4 separate regions of the Homo sapiens genome follow, and all the other regions are linked to region 2. The links are contacts of gene promoters, found by promoter capture Hi-C in blood cells and fetal thymus (Javierre and others, 2016). All regions are on one chromosome and are shown on one strand. Each heading gives the region's core, a stretch centred on a gene start or on the middle of the fragment in contact. The rest is flanking DNA. Distances are from core to core; before and after follow the strand shown.

Region 1 (2,946 bases), core at 25-2,524, 330 kb before region 2:
CTCCGGCCCTGATGGGGCAGAGGAAATCAAGCGGCATGTCTTCTACTCCACCATTGACTGGAATGTGAGTGTGTCCACCCACACCAGGGCTCTGGCCAGGGCTCAGCCATCTTGGCCACAGGAAGGGTGGTGGGAGGGGAGCCTCTGCCAGCGAGGGCCCCAGACGCAGGAGCAGAGGGTCACAGCCTGCCCTTGAAGACAAGGGCTGGCCTCCTGAGGGCAAGCAATTCCGAGAGCTGGGCAATATGGCCTATGTTCCAAGCCCAGCACCTCCTCCTGCATGGGGCTCCTGGTGGGCTGTTGAGGATGCCATGGTGACCAGAGTGCCCACCCCACTGTGCAGAAGCTATACCGTCGTGAGATCAAGCCACCCTTCAAGCCAGCAGTGGCTCAGCCTGATGACACCTTCTACTTTGACACCGAGTTCACGTCCCGCACACCCAAGGGTGCGTCCCTTATCTGTTTTGTCTGTCTTGGGCTGGTACAGGAGGGAAGCCGGGAGTCGGTGGCAGCTTGGGGGGCAGAGATAGTCAGGGACACTGACAGGCCGAGGTATGCGGGTGGGCAGGCGGGTGAGTTTCTGGCTCCGTGGGACTGACTTTGTCCCTGTCTCACTCCGCCCGACTCTCTCACTATGGGGCTCTGTGGGTCTCTTTGTGTCTGGTGAGAGAGTGGGAGTGGGGATGTGTGGGTGGTGAAGGCCACAGTAGAAAAGCCAGGACCCCTGCCCGGGGCACCTTCCAGCCCACTGGGAAGACCAAACACATCAGGCTTACCATCACGTCAGGGAGAAAGAATCTGACCCAGCCACACTGTGTGGTGGCTGAGCAGAGGTGACAGTGCCCATAGGTCAGGGACAGGCATGGGAATCAGCTTTGGCTGCCCTGACTGCCCGGCCTCCGTGTACTTATCTGGAACAAGGGCACAGCCACAAACCCACTCATTCCCTGGGGTTGCTACAAGAAGCCAGTGAGGGAGCTTCTGGGAAGGAACCTGGTGAATCCTAACTTTTTGGCCAGATATTGACAGTGGGTGTGGGGTGGAATGTTCTGGGAAACCTCCTATAAGGGCATGTTTTAGGAGAGGGTGTGCTTTTCTTCTCTCCTCTCCTCCCCTCCCCTCTCCTCCCCTCCCCTCCCCTCCCCTCCCCTCCCCTTCCCTCTCCTTCCCTTCCCTCTCCTCTCCTCTTTTCAAGATGGAGTCTCGCTCTGTTGCCCAGGCTGGAATGCAATGGCGTGATCTCAGCTTACTGCAACCTCCACCTCCTGGGTTCAAGAGATTCTCCTGCCTCAGCCTCCCGAGTAGCTGGGATTACAGGCATGTGTCAGCACGCCTGGCTAATTTTTGTATTTTTAGTAGAGACGGGGTTTCACCATGTTGGCCAGGCTGGTCTCGAACTCCTGACCTCAGGTGATCCACAAGGGGGTGCTTTTCTCACTGCACTTGCACGCCTCTGATGACAGAGACAGCACTTCTCCAAGCAGTCCGCTGGGCAACGTGACAAGTGCAGCTTCGTAGGAGTCAGGGGCCGGAGGAGCAGCATCAGGCAAGGCTTCTCAGAGGAGGGAGCGTGCGAGTTGAGTCTTGAAGGATAGGCAAGGAGTGGATTATCTAGTTAAAGGGAACAGTGTGTGCAAGGGCTCAGAGACCCCTCTAAGGATCTGAGAAGTCCAACATGGCTCAGCTGTGGTATGGAGAGAGAGGAGGTGAGGATCACAGGGCCCTCAATTGCCAGACTCAGGAGCTGGACTTACTCCTGAAGGCAGACGGGAACCTTTGAAAGGTGTGGGCAGGGTGGCAGATTTGTGGTTGGAACCTTCCCTCTGGCTGCTGTGCAGAGATGGACCTGAAGGGGCTGACGTAAGATGGGGAAGCTGGGGAGGAAGCATCCAGGAAGGGATGAACTGTCTTGGCCTGGGATGGAGGTGGATGTGAGAGTCTTTTTTGTTCCTCATGCGACAGGACTGGGCTGGTCTAATAAACACATATGAGCAGTTGGGCCAAGGCCTGTGATGGACAGGCCCTCTGCAGGCTCCCGCCACGGCCAGCCCCTGAGGCAGGTCTGGAGGCCCTGTGCTCCCCCTTTGCTGGGCTGCCTCAGGGTCGAGGGGACCTCCTCAGGTACCCTCACATTCTCCTTCCATCCGTACAGATTCCCCAGGCATCCCCCCCAGCGCTGGGGCCCATCAGCTGTTCCGGGGCTTCAGCTTCGTGGCCACCGGCCTGATGGAAGACGACGGCAAGCCTCGTGCCCCGCAGGCACCCCTGCACTCGGTGGTACAGGTGAGGGGGGCAGGGGGCTGCTGCTCCATTATCCTTTTCTAAAGAATGGCTGAGTACACAGGCTCTGAGTTGGACAGAACCAGGTTCATACCCTCATGCCACTGTGGGACCAGTAGGGCCTCCAACATAAAACAGGGACAGTAAGGCCCACCTCACACAGTGGCCCTGATAATTGGATGATGATATGGGTGTACATTTCCCAGCACAGAGCCAGGGTCTGGGTACATGTCAGGAGGTGCCCAGGGTGGTGGTGCCGAGTGACTGTCGTGTCTCCGGCATAAGTGTAGCGAAGGACTTGGATCTCATCACACTTGTTCCCCATTTGTACACTTCTACTGCTAATGAAAGTTTCAGGTTGAGAGGCAAGAATGTAGACTGTGGAGCTCATTGCATGGGTTCCAGATTCACAAGATAATGGACTTTGGGGTTTTTTGTTTGTTTGTTTTTGAGACGTAGTCTTGCTCTGTTGCCCAGGCTGGAGTGCAGTGGCACAATCTCAGCTCACTACAGCCTCCACCTCCCAGGTTCAAAAAATTCTCCTGCCTCAGTCTCCCGAATAGCTGGGACTACAGATATACACCACCACACCCAGCTAATTTTTTTTTTTTTTTTTTGTATTTTTAGTAGAGACGGGGTTTTACCATGTTGGCTAGGCTGGTGTCA
Region 2 (2,955 bases), core at 394-2,893:
GACCACACGATGATTCAGTGGCAGATCCAGAATTTAAACTCATGCCTGTTTTACTCCAAAGCTCACTCACTTCACTCCCAAATATTCACTGTCGTATCACTTTAATTCCTTTGTAACACCTAACACCATCTGTAGCTCTCTTGTCTCCAAAATCTACAACGGTAACTAGCACAGAGTGGCACAAAATAAATGGGCAGGAGTTAGAACCTGCCTGTGGCTACTATCACCAGACCACGCAAGGCACCAGAGGCAGCTACCTTCAGCTGAGATGTCTGCTTCATTCTAGCCCAGCTGCTGCCCTGCTCTTCGCCTGGAACAGAAGCTCTTACCCAGCTTCCCATAATGCTCAATGAGGTCCATCTTGGAAAGGAGGTTGATGTGGGGCAGTTCCACGTGCAGCATGGTGGCCAGGGAGGTACACAGTACTGAAATGAACTTGGCAGGGTCTGTGCAGTAGTGAGAATCCACGAGGTGGACGGCAGTCAGCTGGGAGGGAATAGACAGGGTGAGAGTGGCCTGGAGAAACAGGGATCAGCATTCCCTCATGAGAATGAGGGCTTGAGGACAGAGGGGAAGCTTTCCCCATTAGTCTCCTGCCTCTGTTTCTTTCTAATAACCACCCTGGTTTCCTTCTCCCAGGAAATAGGAGTCATTTTTTTTTTCTTACAAGAGGTCTTGCACTGAGCCTCCCAGTGGGCAAGGGGTTTAAATCCCATGGCATCTGACTCCACTCTTTCATTTACTTTTGCCCACCAATTTACAACAATCTCCATGCCACTTTCGACATTAACCCCTTCCATACTTCCAAAATCGCCAAGTTGGCTACTAACACATTTTACACGTGAGGAAACTGAGGTTCAGAGTGATGAACTGACTTATCAACACCACACAGCCAGTCAGTAGCAGAGCCAGATTCTGAACTCATGCCTGTTTTACTCCAAAGCGACCCAGCCCCTACCTCCCTGTGTGACATGGGGGCGTGGCGTCTGTCCTCCCTGTCTCAGTTACTCCATCCGCAAAATGGGCCTCCCCGCCCTGAGACGCACCCTGAGGTCCCACTGCGCCATTTGGGAGAAGATGCTGCGCAAGGCGCCGTGATGCGTGCAGAGCTCCACCTGGCCTGGGCAGTCGAAGAGGAAGTAGTGGCCGCGGAGGGGGTCGAGCTTGGCACGCAGCCAGTCCAGGTTGGCTTCCAGGTACTCCATGCAGTAGAGCAGGCCGCCGTTGGGCCCCAGGCGCAGCGCGTCCATCACGTCGCCCAGCCCCACCAGCTCGCCCACGTCCACGGCACACTCGTACGGCAGCCCCTCGTTGGCCGGGTCCAGGTTCACCACCGCCACGCGCCGGCCCAGCGCGCGCAGGAACTCACTCATGCCCAGGCAGTACGTGGTCTTCCCTGAGCCCGGCGGGCCGATCACCGCCTGCCCGAAGGCCGTGGTCGGAGCGGCCCCTGCCATTGGCGGCCCGCGGCCCGGAGCAGGTCAACTCACAGGGAAAACGGGGCAGGTAGCCGCGCCGGAGACGAGACTGAGGGCGAGGGTCCCAGTACGTATACCTCGTTGGCGGCCAGCGTCACTCGCCTCAGGCGGAACAGCTGAGACCGTGTCGCGCAAAAGGAGATAACAGGCCGATACTAACTAGACTAACTCGACTTCCGGACAGCGTCGGAAACGGCGAGCCAACGAGAGGAAGTCCCGCCCTCACGGCGGGGACGAAGCTAGACGCCGAGGGGCGGGCGGCGCAGCCGCATTTCTCTCGCGGGTAGTGGGTCGAATGTGGGGTCTTTGCGGGAAAATCGCTCTCGGAATTTCTCTAACCTTCAGACTCGAATTAGAAAAGTAAGGGAGCTCCAGTAGTAAACGTCTTTATTCTTCCGTGACGTCGCACACCCAAGCCACCTCCCGCGGACTCTCCGCTGGCAGTCCCACCCAGTGAGGGTAGAGGCGGTGGAGGGCCCACCCAAGGCCGGCTCTTCCAAGCACCACAAATCCTCTCCTCGCCCAGGTCCCTTTCCCCCTTTCTGGCCTTCGTGGGGACACCTTCAGAGTCCCCAAGGAAGGCTGTGCTGATAGCCTCACTCAACCCAGCTTTTCAAAGTTCTGCAGGAGGCAAAGGGCAAGCCCAGAGATTAGGGTTAGAGACCAAAGACAAGCGGTCGTTACCCCTAATATCCAAGGGGAGGGGACGGGAGGGGGCTTTTTGTAAAAATGCCCCTGAGGTATAGAACCGGCAGGCAGGCAGGCTCGGAACAAAACACCCTGAACCAGCCACGAAGACTGCTGCTCCCAGACTCCTTTCTGCTTCAGTGGTAGATGAGGCCAGGGCAGAGGGTTTTCATCATGTAGCTATGAAAGGAAGCCCCCAACCCGGTCAGTCAGGCAATGAGGGGCTGTCTGAAGCACAACTGGAACCCCTCACAAAGGCCATGTCTGTCCGAAACTTCATGCTGGTGGGTGGCTGGCGGCGGAGCAGTGACTCCGTCTGGTCTTGGGGTAGAGGCTCATCATAGATGGTGGAGATGAGCCCCAAGCCATTTCTACGGGGCCTCTTCAGTTGCCCAAATGGCTGTAGCTTCTCTCCATGGTACCTGGATAAAAACGGGCTCTCAGTGAGAAGGCTGCTCTCAAACTCCAGTTAAAGGGGTTGGGAGAGGACGGGGAAGTAGTTACTACATATCTGGTTTGTCCAAAGACAGAGGCTTTAAATCTGGGTCTTTGTTCTCCAGCCCTCTTATCTATCCATTGACAGTGCCAGCAAGAAGGGGCCTCATATAAAATTTTCATTCTGTCACTACAGACTTCCTAATAGTAACCATCAAGTCCAAACTCCTCCAACAAAGGGTATGAATGATCTTGTTAAGCCTTAGGGCTTACTCTTTAAAAAAAAAAAAAAAGTCAGATTTACTTTATTTATTTATTTATTTCTGAGATGGGGTCTCACTATGTCACCCAGGCT
Region 3 (3,076 bases), core at 505-3,004, 390 kb before region 2:
ACTGCACTCCAGCCTGGGCGACAGAGCAAGACCCTGTCTCAATAAAAAATAATAGGCCGGGCACGGTGGCTCACACCTGTAATCCCAGCACTTCGGGAGGTCGAGGTGGGCGGATCACCTGAAGTAGAGAGTTCAAGACCAGCCTGGCCAACATGGTGAAACCCCATCTTTACTAAAAATGCAAAATACTAGCTGGGCATGGTAGTAAGCACCTGTGGTCCCAGCTACTACTAAGGAGGCTGAGGTGGGAGGATTGCTTGAGCTCAGGAGTTTGAGGCTGCAGTGAGCAGAGATCACACCACTGAGACTCGGGAGGCTGAGGCAGAAGAATCGCTTGAACCCTGGAGGCGGAGGCTGCAGTGAGCAGAGATCGTGCCACTGTACTCCAGCCTGGGTGACAGACTGAGACTCCGTCTCAAAAAAACAAAAACAAAAACAAAAAAAAGGCCAGCAGTGGCTCATGCCTGTAATCCCAGCACTTTGGGAGGCTGAGGCAGGTGGATCACCTGAGGCCTGGAGTTAGAGACCAGCCTGGCCAACATGGTGAAACCCTGTCTCTACTAAAAATATAAAAGAATTAGCCAGGCGTGGTGGCACACGCCTGTAATCCCAACTACTCGGGAGGCTGAGGCACAAGAATCGTTTGAACCCTGGAGGTGGAGGTTGCAGTGAGCCAAGATGGCGCCACTGCACTCCAGCCTGGATGACAGAGCCAGACTGTCTCTAAATAAATAAAAGGACTCAGAATGTATAAGCTTTTTTTTTTTTTTTTTTGAGACAAGGCCTCACTCTTTTGCCCAGGCTGGAATACAGTGGCGCAAACACGCCTCAATGCAGCCTTGATCTCCTGGGCTCAAGCAATCCTCCTGCCTCAACTTCCACCACACCCAGATAATTTTGGACTGAATGACTGATGGTAGAAAGTGGGGCTTGTTACGTTGCCCAGGCTGGTCTTGAACTCCTGGCCTAGATTCTCTCACTTTGGCCTCCCAAAATTCTGAGCCACCACACCATGCCTGCATAAGTTTTAGACCCTAAACAATCTGGATCTTTCCCTGCCCAGAGTGATACCTGCTCACCAGGTATAAAGGGCAAACACTCCAGACTGGAGCAGAACAGAGGACTCCAAGAAAACTTCTTCAAGAACATGAAAGTGATAGAAGATTGATGTGGTAGTCATGGAGATGAGCCTCCCAACACCCCCCACCCCGCCCGCTGTTCAAGGAAGGGCCTGCTGCCCAGCTGCAGGGAGTTTGGACAGCAGACAGCCTCCAGCTGTCAGCTCCAGGGCTGGCCTCAGATGCAGACAGCCTCCTCGCCCAAGATCACATCCTTCCACATCCTTCCTCATCCTTCCCCAGGGCGGCCCCCATCAGGTGACTGAGCCAGGCAGTGGTATAAAGGCCTGGCCATTCCAGCCAGGCTTGGCACACTCTGATGGGCAAAACTCACTCCAGAGCTCCTTGCCAGGTTGGCCTAGGCTTTGCCAGGCCTGCACTGTAGTTTGACTTCTGCCCAATCCTGCTTCCTCCCACTTCCTTTCATAGGTGTTGATCCCTAACAAACCTCTTCTTCTGTGTACCTTCCAGAGAGACCAACCTGAGGTATCTGATTTGTCTGAATATCTTTTTTTTTTTTTTTTGAGACAGAGTCTTGCTCTGTCTCCCAGGCTGGAGTGCAGTGGCGCAATCTCGGCTCAGTGCAAGCTCCGTCTCCAGGGTTCACGCCATTCTCCTGCCTCAGCCTCCCGAGTAGCTGGGACTACAGGCGCCCACCACCACGCCCAGCTAATTTTTTATATTTTTTAGTAGAGAGGGGGTTTCACCGTGTTAACCAGAATGGTCTCAATCTCCTGACCCTCTGATCCACCTGCCTCGGCCTCCCAGAGTGCTGGGATTACAGGCGTGAGCCACCACGCCCAGCCTGTCTGAACATCTTGAGAGGAGATTTAGATACCTGGTAGGGAGTGGAATACACTAAGCAAGTGGTAAAACAGGACAATTAAGAGCTGCAGGAAAACAAAAAGTTGTAGAGGAAAGGAATCATAGCGCCGTCGAATAATGTAAACAATGAGAATTGAACAAAACAAAATTATGATGGCAGTTTAGAGAGATGGGGATTATCCGTATGGCTGGTGATGGGAAGTGTTAAAACTATCGTCCTCCAGCCTGGGCAACAAAAGTGAGACCCCATCTCTACAAAAAACAGAAAAAAATATTAGCCTGGCATGGTGGTGCGCACCTATTGTCCCAGCTACTCAAGAGGCTGAGCTGAGGATCACTTGAACCAGGAAGGTCGAGGCTGCAGTGAGCCATGGATGGCACCACTGCACTCCAGCCTGGGTGACAGAGTGAGACCCTGTCTCACAAAAACCCAAAAAATAAAACTATTTTCCATGGTAGAAAAACAAGAGATAGTGCCTATAACTGAAATATCAAGAAAGAGCAAAACAAGCACATTTATTTCGAGATATGGAGATAAATATAAAATATAGTCAGTTAAAGGAGTTGAAAATGGGTGCCTCTGCTTCAGTGGAATGGGCGATGTCTTTTTGTTTTCTTAGTAGAGATGGAGGTCTCACTATGTTGCCCAGGCTGGTCTTGAACTCCTGGGCTCAAGCAATCCTCCCACCTTGGCCTCCCAAAGTGCTGGGATTATAGGTGTGATAATCATGCCCAGCCTGCTGTTTTTATAAAAACTTATCTGTTTAAACTTTGTGCATATATAACTTTGATTAGGAAAAGAAAAGAGTATAAGCTTCCCAATGACAGAGATTGCAAGAGTCTGGTTACTATAAAATCCCCAGCATTCTACATGTAGTAGGTGCTCAAGAAGTATTTGTTGTTCACGTCATTGAATAAAAGTCACCCCCCAGCTTGGAACTCTGAATGGCTTCTGACAGCACAGTATTAAGATCACAGTCTAAGCCTGGGCAACACAGGGAAACCCTGGCTCTACAAAAAATACAAAAATTAGCCAGGCATAGTGGCACACACCTGTAGTCCCAGCTGCTAGGGAGGCTGAGGTGGAAGGATTGCTTGAGCCTAGGAGGTCGATGCTGCAGTAAGCCATGGAT
Region 4 (2,745 bases), core at 246-2,745, 280 kb before region 2:
TCATCATACCAAACACAGGGTGGTGTTTAGTGGAGAAGGGGCCAGGAGAGGAAAAAAGCCTAGGCTTTTTCCTAAGTTACTTAACTTGGGAAACCAATGGGCTCCTTTTAAGATTAAATGTGTCTTTAAAATACCAGGATCTTCAGTTATGAAGATATGGGCAAAACTGCTTCCCCCAGACAAACCTGAGGTGGGGGATGTAGGTGTCACATTCAAATCAAAAAGGTGCCTCTCGACAGGAAAGATTTAATCAGCTCTCCTTCCCAGGATCGGCTGCCAGGTTTGAACATTTACTTGTCTGAGTTCCAGGCAGGAGACACTGCTAATTATGGGAGCAATTCCCATGGCTACAGAAAAGAACTGTCTGAGCTGGGGAGTCAAAGCTCTGATCAAGAGGGGACTGAGAGGAAAAAAGCCCCCAGCATTCTCAGAGGAAATTCTGGAGTTGACAAGATACATGCCTTCTCTGCAGGAATGCCCCCTATGTCTGGCATTTGAAGATCTAGAAACATCCTTCCCTTCACCTTCCTAACTTACGTGTTAAGAATCCCTTTGTTTGACAAATAGAATTTTCAAAGCAGTTTCTTTCGTTCAAACACTACGTGATTAAGTTTGTTTTGGAAAAAAACACAGAATGAGGACTTTACTAAGAGTGATTCTCACAAATGATGGTACCTGAAAAGAGGCAAACTTGGCCATCAGGGCAGCCAAAATGGCACAAGCATTTGGAACTTGTTGCCTTATCCTTGGCAAAAACACCACTGGATCCTTTCCGCTCTACGTAAAGTAAGCTGTGGCAAAGTTTACTTTTCTTGTGGCACAAAATCTAGACTCACAGTGAGCTTCTTCACCATTAGCTTCAATTTATATTCTGCCTCTCTTCTTTGTCCATTATTCAGGGCACCTGCTCTCTGTCCCTCCCCCACTCCTCCAGCTGTCTGTCTGTCTCATTTGTGTCAATTAGGAATTCAATACTGCTTGATTTAACTGAATGACTTTCCCTGTACAGAATCTCAACTACAGACAGGGCATCAACCATCACTCCCATTCCCCAGAATAAAAAATTCTGAAAAGCCAAAGGCATGCAAGGATACCTAAGAAAGGAGCAAGAGGTCCTTGCTAGCTATGGCAGTGAGCCTGAGAAAGATGGCAAGACCGCATTTCCTGACACCCAGTTATGTATTTGGTGGCCTACCAAGAGTCAGCATTGCATCCAAGATCATTTGAGTCTACTCTATTTAGTAAAGGTTTTCAAAGAGGATCATAAGACTTAGAAATCAAGAACCAACTGGAAGAAATAAACTTTTTATATCATTTCCTAGTTTACAACATGCTTTCCCATCCTCAGAAGAATGACTTTGTCTTTCTGTTAATTCAGTCATTGAAAACATCGGTCCTATTCTTTAGTCAACTGCCTCTATTCACCTACTATGTGCCAGGCAGTGTTATCAGAGCTGAAAACAGTGTTCTAAGAACAGAAAATAAAATAAAGTTCTTATTCTCATGCAACTTACATTCTAATGGGAAGGATCAAAATAATAAGTAAGTAGACCTATAGTGTATTAAATGATAATGAGGGTATTGAGAATCATAAAGCAGTGTTAAGGGAGATAGAAATTATGGTTTGAGCAGAGTCTTTTTTTTTTTTTTTTTTTTGAGATGGAGTCTCACTCTCTTGCCAGGCTGGAGGGCAATGGTGTGATCTCAGCTCAATGCAACCTCCGACTCCCTGGTTCAAGCAATTCTCCTGCCTCAGCCTCCTGAGTAGCTGGGATTACAGGCACGCGCCACCATGCCCAGCTAATTTTTTGTATTTTTAGTACAGATGGGGTTTCACCATGTTGTCCAGGATGGTCTCGATCTCCTGACCTTGTGATCTGCCCGCCTCGGCCTCCCAAAGTGTTGGGATTACAGGTGTGAGCCACCGCGCCCGGCTGGACAGAGTTTTTTTAGTTTACAAAGGGTAGACAGAAAGAACTCACTGATGAGGTGATTTGAGCTGAGACATAAAAGAAGAGGGAGAACAAGCCATATAAATATGAGGGGGAGGAGCTTGCCAGGCAGAGGGCACAGCAAATGCACAGGTCCTGACACAGGAGTTTCCTTGTTGAAGGAGACCAATTGTAGCTAAATAGAATAAGCCAAGGGAAAGATGTAAGAGAGGTCAGGAAAGTGGGAGTGGAGGGGACAGACTTGTAAGGCCTTGTAAATCATTGTGGGGTCTTTGTTTATTTTGTTTTGTTTTGTTTTAGACAGACTCTCGCTCTTTTGCCCAGGCTGGCTGAAGTGCAGTGGCACAGTCTTGGCTCATTGCAACCTCCGCCTCCCAGGTTCAAGCGATTCTCCTGCCTCAGCCTCCCAAGTAGCTGGGATTACAGGTGTGCACCACCACACTCAGCTAACTTTTATATTTTTAGTAGAGACAGGGTTTCACCATGTTGGCCAGGCTGGTCTTGAACTCCTGGGCTCAAGTGATCTGCCCGCCTTTGCCTCCCAAAGTGCTGGGATTACAGGTGTGAGCCACTGTGCTCGACCTCTCTGTTTTTTATTCTGAGTGAGATGAGAAGCCACTGGAGGGTTTTTAGTAGGGGAAAGACTTATGTTTTATGATATGACATAAAATTATTTAATTTTTTTACAACGGGGTCACCCAGGCTGGAGTGTAGTGGCGCAGTCATAGCTCACTGCAGCCTTGAACTCCTGGGCTCAAGTGATCCTCCTGCCTCAGTCTCCTAAGTAGTTAGG

Evidence for each region. The method cuts DNA at HindIII sites, captures the fragments that hold promoters and counts their contacts. A CHiCAGO score of 5 or more calls a contact.
Region 1: a contact is called between a fragment that was not itself captured here and the fragment with the promoter of GPN2 in region 2, in 1 of 17 cell types (total CD4 T cells). The highest score is 5.4, in total CD4 T cells.
Region 3: a fragment that was not itself captured here is called in contact with the fragment with the promoter of GPN2 in region 2 in 1 of 17 cell types (fetal thymus); the score reaches 5.1 in fetal thymus.
Region 4: a contact is called between a fragment that was not itself captured here and the fragment with the promoter of GPN2 in region 2, in 16 of 17 cell types (activated CD4 T cells, M0 macrophages, erythroblasts and 13 more). The highest score is 11.8, in activated CD4 T cells.

What each region holds. Positions count from the first base shown.
Region 1 is chr1:26,556,655-26,559,600 of GRCh38, forward strand. It overlaps RPS6KA1 (ribosomal protein S6 kinase A1), which reads left to right. Exons shown (of 22, transcript NM_002953.4): 12 at 1-64; 13 at 344-446; 14 at 2,153-2,283. Among named protein-coding and RNA genes, the nearest start is that of MIR1976, 3.6 kb to the left of the region's middle. The HindIII fragment of the contact is 3,642 bases long and covers 1-2,946 here.
Region 2 is chr1:26,888,640-26,891,594 of GRCh38, forward strand. GPN2 (GPN-loop GTPase 2) reads right to left here and starts at 1,644. Exons shown (of 5, transcript NM_018066.4): 1 at 1,047-1,644; 2 at 330-486. The coding sequence starts at 1,457. It overlaps GPATCH3 (G-patch domain containing 3), which reads right to left. Exons shown (of 7, transcript NM_022078.3): 7 at 1,849-2,587. The coding sequence ends at 2,371. RefSeq lists enhancers at 805-1,682, 1,038-1,207, 1,718-1,987. The HindIII fragment of the contact is 6,723 bases long and covers 575-2,955 here.
Region 3 is chr1:26,495,777-26,498,852 of GRCh38, forward strand. No RefSeq gene overlaps it. Among named protein-coding and RNA genes, the nearest start is that of HMGN2, 25 kb to the left of the region's middle. The HindIII fragment of the contact is 2,002 bases long and covers 754-2,755 here.
Region 4 is chr1:26,604,076-26,606,820 of GRCh38, forward strand. No RefSeq gene overlaps it. Among named protein-coding and RNA genes, the nearest start is that of MIR1976, 51 kb to the left of the region's middle. The HindIII fragment of the contact is 3,407 bases long and covers 1-2,745 here.